Regions from separate parts of the Homo sapiens genome. Here regions 1 and 2 are each linked to region 3. Evidence: promoter capture Hi-C in human tissues and cell types (Jung and others, 2019). All regions are on one chromosome and are shown on one strand. The core of a region is centred on a gene start or on the middle of the fragment in contact, and the rest is flanking DNA. Distances in the headings are between cores, read along the strand shown.

Region 1 (3,849 bases), core at 1,003-3,502, 1.7 Mb after region 3:
TCTTTGGGAAGACAAATAGGTGACATTCCAGAAAGAAACATGTAGCTTCTCTAACATAATCCCTCTGTGCCGTGCAATTATTAACACATCGCTTGAGGGCATTGTGGATGTGGGCCCTCCAGAATTCAAGAAAATGTCTCTGCAAGGGTAAAACACCCGCCCTCACGTCCTAATGGCTTTTTTTCTCTTTCAGCCACACACAGTCAAATTTGAGGCATAATTTGCTGTGAATTACCTACAAATTGTATACAGTGCTTTAGGACTAAGTAGCTTTTTGCAAGGCTTGGTATGAATTTTCTCTTTTGTCCAAATCATACAAAATACTCTTTCTAAATTGTTAAGATTTTCTGCCACGCATAAAAATGAGGCTGAAATCACCCAAAAGGTGACAAAAATGGATTAGACAATCCTTGGAACTTTATAACTGTGTGCGTATTTCAAGGGATCTGTTGGCTTCTGAGCTCTTGTTCTGAGGGGTGGGAGAATTAGACAATCCTTGGAACTTGATAACTGTGTGCATTTTAAGGAATCTGTTAGCTCCCGAACTCTTGTTCCAAGGGGTAGGAGAAAAAGGGGGCATCATCTAGCAGCTGGGAGGAGTCTCAGGATCCCCCTGCAGGAAGCCCGGAATCCCTTCCACAGGCACAGAGCTGAGGGTGCTGCAGAGCCCCTAAAGAGCTTTCTGGGCATCGGGAAAGTCCGGGCTCAGTGCATGTGGAGCTGCCACCCTAGAAAGCCCTGCGTCGGTGTTGCTGTGTTCTCAGGCCCGTGCAGCTGACATTCCTTTGGCTTCCTGGTGATGGAGGGACAGACAGAGCATCCCCACATTTGTCTTTGAGGGTGTGTGGTGTATACGGGAGCAAGCAGGTTCAGCAGAAAATGACGTGATGCCAAGGCCAGGGCTGTGAACTTGCAGGAGCTGCCTGTGACCCCAGGGCAATCTGGGTTGTCATTGCAGAAGGAAGCCCAGTGGGTTTCAGCTGCTAGTGGAGAACCTATGGCTTCAGTGCTAGCAGTTGCTGTATCCTGCTAAGCGTCTGCCTCCATTCTGGGTCCTGGCTTCTGGGCCAGTCCCTGCCTTTATGACACTACCTTCATGGGGTGTGGGAAGGTGGACCAAGGAATGGGTGGATAGAGGGTAGATGGATGGACAGGTGGATGGGTAGATGATGGATGGAGGGATGGATGGACAAGTGGACAGATGGATAGAGAAATGGATGGATGGATGGTTGGACAAGTGGACGGATGGATAGAGGAACAGATGGATGGATGGACAGGTGGATGAATGGACAAAGGGACAGATGGAAGGAGAGAGGGAGGGAGGGAGGAAGGGAGAGATAGATGAATGGATGGATGGATGGATGGTGGATGGATGATGGATGGATAGATGGATGGACAGAGGGACAGATGGAAGGATGGATGGATGGAGGGGTGGGAGAAGGGGAGGGAGGGAGGGATGGATGGATGGACAGATGGATGGATGGATGGACGGAGAGATGGACACACAGGTGGATGGATGGATGAATACATGGATAGGTGGAGGGATGGATGGACAGAGGAAGGGAGAGATGAAGGGACAGAGGGAGAGATGGGTGGAAAAGTGGAAGGGAGGAGAGGAGAGAACAGGGCATTAAAACTCATTAATGATAAAGCAATTACTGGAGGAAGCATGGATTTTACCTCCCCATGCCAGGAATGATTTTACCTCCCCACGCCAGGAATGTCTGATGTTTCTGGCTTAGTGAAGAGGAAGCTTGGGAAGTCCAAGGTGATTCTAATCTGTGGAATGTTGTATTACTCTCACATTTGTAGGTTTATGGCATTTGTTATGGAAACGTTCTTATTGTGGGGCAATCTACCCGTAAGCAAATCCCCTGAAGGTAGAGATCAGCTGCTCACCCATCTAGTATTTCCTTTTATTTGTGAAAATGCATTCAGTGAGAAAATGTATAAGAACCAATTGTGAATGGTTCTCTTTCAGCTAGTTCTCAAAAAATCCTGTATCTTTTTATAAAGATGGAAATGACAGCCCAGAGTCTATTAAAATAAATATAAAGTCACCATGCCGGGGCCTGGCAATGGGACTGGCTGCTTATGGCTTTGATTCAACATTTTCTCCCTGGAATGTGTTTATGGGAGTTTATAGGCTGTGTGTGAATGTGCAGAGTACGGAGAAGTGCACGCAGCTGTACTCTCCACGTCTGTGCAGTATAGGGCAGACGATAAGTCTTGAGATCCATATGTTTCTTATAAAATTCTGATCTTTGGAAGGATGAGTAATAGGCATTAAGATGGCAGAGAAAGAAACGATCACAAGAGGAAATCATGCACTTCAGAGGCAGTTTCTGCTTCACAAAGAAAGTCTCCAGCAAAATCTACTGTACCCTGCAGTGAACGGCACGGGTTGCTTTCCTTGGAGCTGTCACGGTGTATCTGGTGTCCCCCGAACCGCGAGTCGTGGAGGCCCGTGGGCAGGTGCCCCGGGAGTGCGGCCCAGGCAGATGGTACCAGAACGGGGTGCCGTGCTAGAAGAGCACCCCAAACTGCACGCATCTGCTTCCTCAGATCCCGCAGATGGGCCAGGTGTTCAGAACCTTGTTGGTAGCTTGTCAGTCACCCACAGAGTGAGATGCATACTTTGTTGATAGAATGAGATTTAATGTTCAGGTCAAATATGAAAATGTGTTTGCTTGGAGGGGCATGATCTTTCTGTAGAAGACTCTTCCTGTCATACAGTTACCACTCACTGTCCTCTTCCTTCAAGCCAGGCTCTGTGCTAAGTAAACGATCCTGATTAAAACCCTGTTTTCATTGTCTGTTCTTGTACAAGCCTGTGCCTGCCTGCCGTGGGGTGAGGTGCACCGCCTAGCTGGCACTTCACAGTAGAGAGCAGCCAGAGGGATGGGTGGGAGTTGGGAGGCTGGGCTCTTCCTGGCGGTGGGTGAGACTGTAGCCCCATCACAACCACATCATCCCCTTCCCAGGAGCTCCTCGTGTCTGGGGAGGTGGGCGTGGCAGGGACTACAGCCAGAGCTGGGTCTGTTTGGTGCTTCTTCCCTGTGTGTGGATTCATTTAACAGGGTTGGCTGATACCTACTGTGTAGCAGGGATTGCAGTGGCATCGGACAAAGCCTCTGCCCTCTGGATGCCAAACATTCTAGAAACCCCCAAAGGAATAAATGCAGCCGTTGCTGCTGGTGAAGGAGGCCGTCGGAGTGCTGTGAATGAGGGGGACTGGCCGGCCTGGGAAGTGGCCTGGGAGGTGCTCAGAGGGTGGCAAAGGGGCGACCATGCGACTGAGCCCTGTGGGAAGAGCAGGGGGGCCGCCCAGCTAAGGAAGCAGCAAGCGCGGAGCACGTGGCCTCAACCTCCGTCTTGCTTATGCTGGTTAAGTAGGTCTGATGTTAACCAAGCCAAAATGCAGGGGCAGGGACATCTCAGGACCTTTTATACAAAATAGCCTTGAGCCTGGGCAGAATTCGGAGGCAACCATCTCCTGGCCGCCTGTTCCATATCACACACAAGGTCCAGCCCCCTGTGTTGTTCTGCAGCTGGGAATCCTGGGCTCCGTCCTGGGGGCTGAAAGGCTCCTGGGGGTTCAGTCTCTAACCTGCTCTTTAAAATTTTAGGGCTTTCTTGGGTAGTTTCATTTTATCTCAAAGTCTTACAAACCATCTTAGCGTTTTTGTGCAAACAGCTCCCAATCCTCGCCAGCACCTGGGACCTGCCACACCCACCCAGCACAGCAGCCTCCCTCAATCTGCAGCCCACAGCCGCCTGCCGTGACCACCCCTCGATGTGGGTGAGGTTTCTAAACTGCTCCTGAAGCTTCAAACACACAATTCATCT
Region 2 (4,058 bases), core at 858-3,357, 1.2 Mb after region 3:
ATTGGGGATGCGCATTTTCCCAGTTGGCCAAAAGCTTAGGCCAAGGATGAGCTCTTTGAAAACTCTGGCCCTTCCTCAGATGCATTAAAGAGGAGTGGCTTGGCTCACAAGTCACTTGTCTTCAGGGAACACCTGAGGCTAAGTGGAGTCCTTGCTTCGGCATGGAATGCTCTTGGTGCAAGCACAAGACCTCTGTCTACTGAGAGGGCAGGAATGACGGCGACTTTGTGGACAGGTTCCTCTGTCATTAAAACGAAGAAGTGACCCAGCTGCCTCTGCCCATCCAGGCCCTGCTCATAAGACAGGCAAGGGTGACACAGGTGGGCCTGAGACAGGCAAGCTGGCTGGTTTCCTGTTTCCACATGGTCTGGAGAAAAAAAAAAAAGAACAAAGGCCCCTTCCTCTAGCTGTAACTCCAGCCAATCAGCGTCAAAGGCCCAAGAAGCTTTTAACCACATGTTTCTGCTTTAGGGGATCGGTAACTTTCCCAAGGCCCTGCATGCACAGCTAGGCTTAACTTCCAACTCATAGTTACCTTTTCCTTATGTTAATGCTAAAACTCATGTCCGGAGGTGGAGATTTCAGATGCTAATGAGACATATGTTGTATGAAGGGCATGGTGGACTACCATGCATGGGCCAGGAAAACCCCACCGCTACATTGTTCCCCTTACTTCCCTTTACTGCAGAGCCTCATAAAAGAAACCCACACCCTGACTTCAGGACCCTCCTCGGGCACCCACACATGTTCACACCCACACATGATCATGCACCATCACAACTGCTCACACTCATGCACACTCAGGCACTGGCACACTGACACACTTCTTATCTTCCAGCTTGACTGCAGACGTGGTCTAATAAAGGGCTCATTCCCCTGGCAGCTGTGATGGGATCCAAGCCATGGGGCTTTTTCTAGAAAGATGGGACAGAGAAGGTCGCTTTCCAATGAGCTGCCACCTTGGAGGTCTCTGCCTGTGCCTGGAGGTCGTGGAGAGGGAGAGTGAGAAGGCAATCTGGGCACTGTTGAGCACCGCATGTTTTCAGCTCCGTTCACCAGTAGATCCTCATTTCTGCTTACACCTGCCAGGGATAAGTTCCATCGGTGCATTCAGTTGAGTCCCTGTGGGTTCAAGTGGACACCCCAGACACCCATGGGGCTCTCTGGAAAGTATCAGAGGGGAACTAAAGACAAAGTGAGTCTCAGCACGGCTCCTCTGAGGACCACCTCTCCTGCTGCCAGGGACCCTAACCATCCCATGTTCCACTCTTTTGCCAGCACCTTTGCTGCTGGGCACTTAGGCAGGCTTCCCAACCAGAGGGTTATGTGCACTGCTATGGCTGCAGACAGTCGTATGTGGTTGCAAATAATCTGTGGCAAATTAAGCACTGCAGCTGGTAAATAATATATTTTAAGCATATTGCAATAGATGCAAAGGCACTATTCTTGCATTCTGGTTTTCTTTCCTGAGTGGAGGGGTTTAGAAGCACCCAGGGATACATCACCTGCGTGAGCGTCGCCTGATGTGGGCATCCAGTCCTAGAGGTTCTGAACATGCTGTACCATCACATTGATGTGTTTTGGACACCCCAGATGCTTGCACCTGGCTCCCTCTCCCAATGTCCCTAGGCTCCCAGCTCCCAGCCTCCTCGAGCCTGATGGTACGTGGGGAAGGAATACCTACACAGGCCCTGTATGTCTGACCTGCTTGCTGCCACTGCCCACCTTCCTGCCCTACAGTGCAGGGTCTCTCCCATCCCTGGGCTCTCTCCTTTCCTGGGAGGTTGGGCACTCACTATCCCTCTGCCTAGGCTCTGTCCCAGATCTCTTTTTAATTTTTTTTATTTTTTTTAATTCAAACAACAGATGTGTAATGGCTCACAATCTAGAAGCCAGAAACGTGAATCAAGATGTTGGCAGGACCACAATCCCCCACAGGCTCTGGGGGAGGCTCCATTCCTTCCTCTTCTTCCTATCCCATTGCTGGAGGCTTCCAGCCATGACACCCATCTCTGCTTCCTCCTCTTCTGTCTGGCTTACCTCTCTGCCTCCCTCTTAGTAAGACCCTTGTCACAGGATTTAGGCCCCACCAGGATAATCCAGGAGGGTCTCTGCATCTGAAGATCCTTAACTTAATCACACCTGCAAAGACTCTTCTTCTAAATATGGTCATGTTCACAAGGTCCAGGGATTTGGATGTGGACACACCATTCAGGAAAGTGACTGCAGTGAGGGCCTCTTGTTCTCTCCCCAACTTCACAGTTCGTTCTGGCTTTGTTTTAAATATTCCAAGATAACAATGAATGTTTTTTTCCCCACAAAAGATGTTCACATATATATATGGGGTGGGTGGTGGGAGTGTGTATAGTGGTTAAATACATATAACATAAAATTCACTATTTTGACCATTGTTAAATGTACACATCTGTGGCATTAAGTGCATTCACACTGTGTACAACCATCTTGACCATCCATCAACCATCAACACCATCCATCAACCATCTCCACAATCCATCAACCATCTCCACTATCCATCAACCATCTCCACCATCTACCAACCATCTCTATCATCCATCAGCCATCTCCACCATCCATCAACCATCTCCACCATCCATCAACCATCTCTACCATCCATCAACCATCTCCACCATCCATCAACCATCACCATCCATCAACCATCACCACCATCCATCAACCATTCCCATCATCCATTCAACCATCTCCACCATCTATCTGTCATCTCTATCATCCATCAACCATCTCCACCATCCATCAATCATCTCCACCATCCACCAACCATTTCTACCATCCAAGAACCATCACCATCATCCATCAACCATCACTATCATCTACCAACTGCCTCCACCATTCATCAACTGTCTCCATCATCCATCAATCATCTCCACCATCCATCTACCATCACCATCCATCAACCATCACCACCATTTATCGACCATCGCCACCATCCATCAATCATTTCCACCATTCATTAACCATCTCTACTATCCATCAGCCATCACCACCATCCATCAACTGTCTCCACACCCAACAACCATATCCACAATCCATCTCCAAGATCACCTCAGATCTTTAACTTGCCAAATACTCGTCAGCATTAAGTCTCAGCTGAAACGATGTTCAAGATCCTCCGTCCCTCCTGGACTCTCCTTCCTTTATCACATGTTACTGCCTCAAAACCCAACTCTCTAAGAGCATCTTGTTCATTTGTGTGTTTATATTGTGCCTACTACCTGCACACTCCCTGGGGGCTGGGATTACTTTCTCCTAGCTTATGACGGTCTCTTCAGTGCCTAGAACTGTCTGGCCTGCACTCGGTACCCAAAAAATGCATGACATGTGAATAAACATGTGTATAGGGTTGTGAGTATCAAGTGATTCAACTCTTGTAATGATTTTAGCTAAGCTCTGGACACCCTGCAAGAACTCAAGAAAGTGTCTGTATTGCTATTAAGCACTTAGGAATGTCATGTTTTAGGTTAGCTCTTTGGTTACAAGCAACAAAGGCTCCACTCAGACTCACTTGGGGGCAGGGTTTTCACTCTGGTTGTACAGGAAGCCATACAAGGAATCCCAAGGAATCTGAGGTGTGCAGGCTGTGGGGCAGGTTCTTCCAGGGACCCATGGGGGCAAACCTGAATCTGGGTGGCTCAGAGTCCTCTGTACCAGGACTAGGAGGCTGTGTCTCACAGGTTCCTCCAGAAACTGCCCAGCAACTGGCTGCTCCCTACTTCTTCCTGTTGCACCAAACACTGGCAAATCCCTCCCATGTGTCTGGTACAAATGAGCCTAGTTGACCATGCTTGGATTTAATCCAGACCATAGGGGTTTTATGTCATTGACTTAGCCAGGAAGGGGATGCTCCTCAGTCAGATGCTTGGCCCTGGACCAGTCAGCCTGGGAGAGGCAGGACCACAGGGTGCCGATGCTCCTGCTGTCCCCACAGTGCGGTGAGGGCAGGACAGGTTTTGCAGCTTCTCCTTTAAAAGGGAGCAGAGAGGCTGCTGCTGGGCCAGGTTCCCAACTGTGAACATCATATA
Region 3 (3,850 bases), core at 810-3,309:
ATATTTTATTTTTGATGAGTTCTTTTTTATTTTTATTTTTTAATTTTATTTTTCCATAAGTTATTGGGGTACAGGTGGCATATTGGTTACATGAGTAAGTTTTTCAGTGGAGATTTGTGAGATCCTGGTGCACCCATCACCCAAGCAGTATACACTGCACCATATTTGTTGTCTTTTATCCCTCACCCTCTTCCCACTCTTCCCCCCAATTCCCCAAAGTCCATTGTATGATTCTTATGCCTTTGTGTCCTCATAGCTTAGCTCCCACAAATCAGTGAGAATATACAATGTTTGATTTTCCATTCCTGAGTTACTTCATTTAGAATAATAGTCTCCAATCTCATCCAGGTCACTGCAAATGCTGTTAATTCATTCCTTTTTATGGCTGAGTAGTATTCCATCATATATATCTGTATATACACATATATATACATATATATGTGTATATATATGTGTATGTATATATATACATATATGTGTGTATATATGTGTATGTATATATATACATATATGTGTGTATATATGTATGTATATATGTGTATATATGTACATACACATATATACACATATATGTGTATATATACATATATGCGTGTATATATGTACATACACATATATACACACATATATGTGTATATATGTACATACACATATATACACGCATATATGTGTATATATACATATAGATACGCATATACACATTTTCTTTATCCACTAGTTGATTGATGGGCATTTGGGTTGGTTCCACGATTTTGCAATTGTGAATTTTGCTGCTATAAACGTGCATGTGCAAGTATCTTTTTCGAATAATGACTTCTTTTCCTCTGGGAAGATACCCAGTAGTGGGATTGCTGGATCAAATGGTAGTTCTACTTTTGTTCTTTAAGGAATCTCCACACTGTTTTCCATAGCAGCTGTACTATGTTATATTCCCCCCAGCAGTGTAGAAGTGTTCCCTGATTGTCACATCCACACCAACGTCTACTGTTTTTTGATTTTTTGATTATGGTCATTCTTGCAGGAGTAAGGTGGTATCGCACTGCGGTTTTGATTTGCGTTTTGCTGATCATTGGTGATGTTGAGCATTTTTTCATATGCTTGTTGACCATTTGTATATCTTCTTTTGAGAATTGTCTATTCATGTCCTTATCCCACTTTTTGATGGGATTGTTTTTTTCTTACTGATTTGTTGGAGTTCATTGTGGATTCTGGATATTAATCCTTTGTCAGATGTATAGATTGTGAAGATTTTCTCCCACTCTGTGGGTTGTCTGTTTACTCTGCTGACTGTTCCTTTTGCAGTGCAAAAGCTCTTTAGTTTAATTAGGTCCCAGCTATTTATCTTTGATTTTATTGCATTTGCTTTTTGGTTCTTGGTCATGAAATCCTTGCCTAAGCCAATATCTAGAACAAGCAAAGAAAGTTTACCTTTTATTTTATCTGTTTACTACTTTAAACAAGGTAATGTGATAAAAAGGTCATGTTAAGGTAATCAGGGTTAATGTATCACAGATTGTGTTTTAAAACTTGCTTACTGCAACCTTAAGTATTGGTATAATATAATCTCAAATTGTCTCTTTCAGAATTCTCATGCAAAGACTCCCGGGTTGCCACAGAGATCCCTGTCCATAGGGAGGCTCTTTCCCATCTCTCCTCCCTCCCACTTTAATTCCAAACTCAAAAAGGCAGATTAATCTAAGCTTAAAAAAGGTTTTAGTAGAAATAATTTGAAAACCCCAGAGCCCTGGGATATTGTTGGAATAACGATTTTTAGTGCTTTGGAAAGTAAAAGTTGATTTTTCTTTTCTTTCATTCTTCCCCATCCCTTCCCCCTTAATAAAGTTATCATTCTTGTCATTTTCTAGTTTTTTTTGTTTGGTTCAAGAGGATAAGATTATAGAAAATAGTCACTAACATATCCTGCTATAGAAAGAGATGATTGGACCTTCTATTTGGAAACCAGAACAAACAAGGAAACAAAGAAACAAATAATTCTGCTTTCCGATAGGTGCTGGTTTTACTTCCGCTGGCTGAGCTGTTGTTCCTGAGGTCAGACCCCAGCCAGTCTTTTGTGTACGTGCAGGACCATGGTGGCTTTAGTTTCTACCCCACCCTTCCTAGGAACTCTACTTGTGGCAAACGTATGTTCAAGCTTACAAGTCAGCCCACCCCACTCTGATAAATGCAAGAAAAGCTGAAAAGGGAGGAGCAAGATGGGATGAAAGCATCTGGGCCAAAGTGACCTGAAAACCTTTAGAGAAGAAGCTGCTGGCTGAGAAGGAGGTGTGTGGCTCCGGTGAGACCACCAGCTTGGAGGACTGGTCATCAGCTGCACGTTCTGGGTCTGTCTTGGGTATTCCCATATGGCCATGAGATCCGGGAGGCACCCCTCGCTGCTGCTGCTTCTAGTGCTGCTGCTGTGGCTGCTGCAGGTAAGCTGAGCCTGCAGCCTAGTGCTCAGGTGCAGGGAACTGAAAGCAAAGCACAAGCTGGCCCTGCCCCTTCTAGGCTAAGGGAGGGGAGAGGGACTGAGTGTGACCTGCTGGGACCCAGGGCTGGCTGTCTTGAGAATGGCTTAGGTAGCAGGGGCTCTGGATTTATATAAAGGGAAGTTAAGGGTCCCAGTCTGTTTGGGGCAACAGTGGGAGCAGGCTAAGGGACCTGTTTAAAACTAATTTATATAGTTCACACTATTTTTAGTGAGATTACATCAACACACACGTGTTTTCTTTCTTTGTTTCTTTCTCCTTTTGTTGAGACAGGGTCTGGCTTCATCATCCAGGCTGGAGTGCAGTGGCATGATCAAGGCTCACTGCAGCTTTAACCTCCCAGGCTCAGGTGATCCTTCCACCTCAGCCTCAAGAGTAGCTGGGACTACAGTAACTTACCACCACGCTGGCTAATTTCTGTATTTTTTATAGAGATGGATTTTCACCATGTTGCCCAGGCTGGTCTCGAACTCCTAAGCTCAAGTGATTTATTCGCCTTGCCCTTCCGAAGTGTTGGGTTTACAGGCATGAGCCACCTCACCCAGCCAACACACACAATTTTTTTTTTTTTTTGAGACAGGGTCTCGTCATCCAGGCTACAGTGCGTGGTGACATCTCAGTGCACCGCAACCTCCTCCTACTGGGTTCAAGCAACCTCCTGGCTCAGCCTCCCGAGTACTGGGACTACAGGTGCACGCCACCATGCCCGGCTAGTTTTTGTATTTTTATTAGAGACAGGGTTTCACCATGTTGGCCAGGCTGGTCTCAAACTCCTGACCTCAAGTGATCTGCCTGCCTCAGCCTCCCAAAGTGTTAGGATGACAGGCTTGAGACACTGCGCCCTGCCAAGTTTTATAATGATACTTCTGTTCACACTTTACATAAGATTGAGGAAATCTCAGTTGTCTGGATCCAAGGCAATTTGAGCAAACCCATGGGGATGGAATGGCTAAATCCATTGCCCCCAACTGCCACTGTTTAAATGGGAATACAAACTAGTGGAGTCAGGATTCGAAACACATGGGCTTGCTCTGTTTGTACTTAGAGTGGACAGAGGTAATGTTGCATGCGCTTGTTGGTTATGATCTGCTTCGTTGGCTTTCTGTAGGTAGGGAGAGGGAATCATTTCTTCCTTTGAATACCAGCTGAGGGTGGGAAGCAGCCCAGTGGCTGGTAACTGTGAGCTCTGGACTGGGCTGCTTGGCGTCCTGACCTAGGCTCCTTCACAGCCCGCTGGGGACCTAGGCCAGCTTAACTTTGTTCCTTACCTTGGATCAAGTTGAACTTACCTAGGGAGCTTCAAGGGATCTCAGTGCCTGGGTTTTGCCCCCAAAGGTTCAGGTTGAGCTGACCTGGGAGTG

What was found. Contacts are between HindIII fragments. The study calls those that stand out against the background at their distance.
Region 1: a contact is called between a fragment that was not itself captured here and the fragment with the promoter of CDH26 in region 3, in 1 of the 25 tissues and cell types used here (dorsolateral prefrontal cortex).
Region 2: a contact is called between a fragment that was not itself captured here and the fragment with the promoter of CDH26 in region 3, in 1 of the 25 tissues and cell types used here (lymphoblastoid cells).

Annotation. Positions count from the first base shown.
Region 1 is chr20:61,681,009-61,684,857 of GRCh38, forward strand. The region is part of intron 2 of CDH4 (cadherin 4); the gene reads left to right. Among named protein-coding and RNA genes, the nearest start is that of CDH4-AS2, 37 kb to the right of the region's middle. The HindIII fragment of the contact is 3,769 bases long and covers 369-3,849 here.
Region 2 is chr20:61,170,688-61,174,745 of GRCh38, forward strand. No RefSeq gene overlaps it. Among named protein-coding and RNA genes, the nearest start is that of CDH4, 80 kb to the right of the region's middle. The HindIII fragment of the contact is 3,737 bases long and covers 240-3,976 here.
Region 3 is chr20:59,956,364-59,960,213 of GRCh38, forward strand. CDH26 (cadherin 26) reads left to right here and starts at 2,060. Exons shown (of 18, transcript NM_177980.4): 1 at 2,060-2,432. The coding sequence starts at 2,364. The HindIII fragment of the contact is 5,804 bases long and covers 1-3,850 here.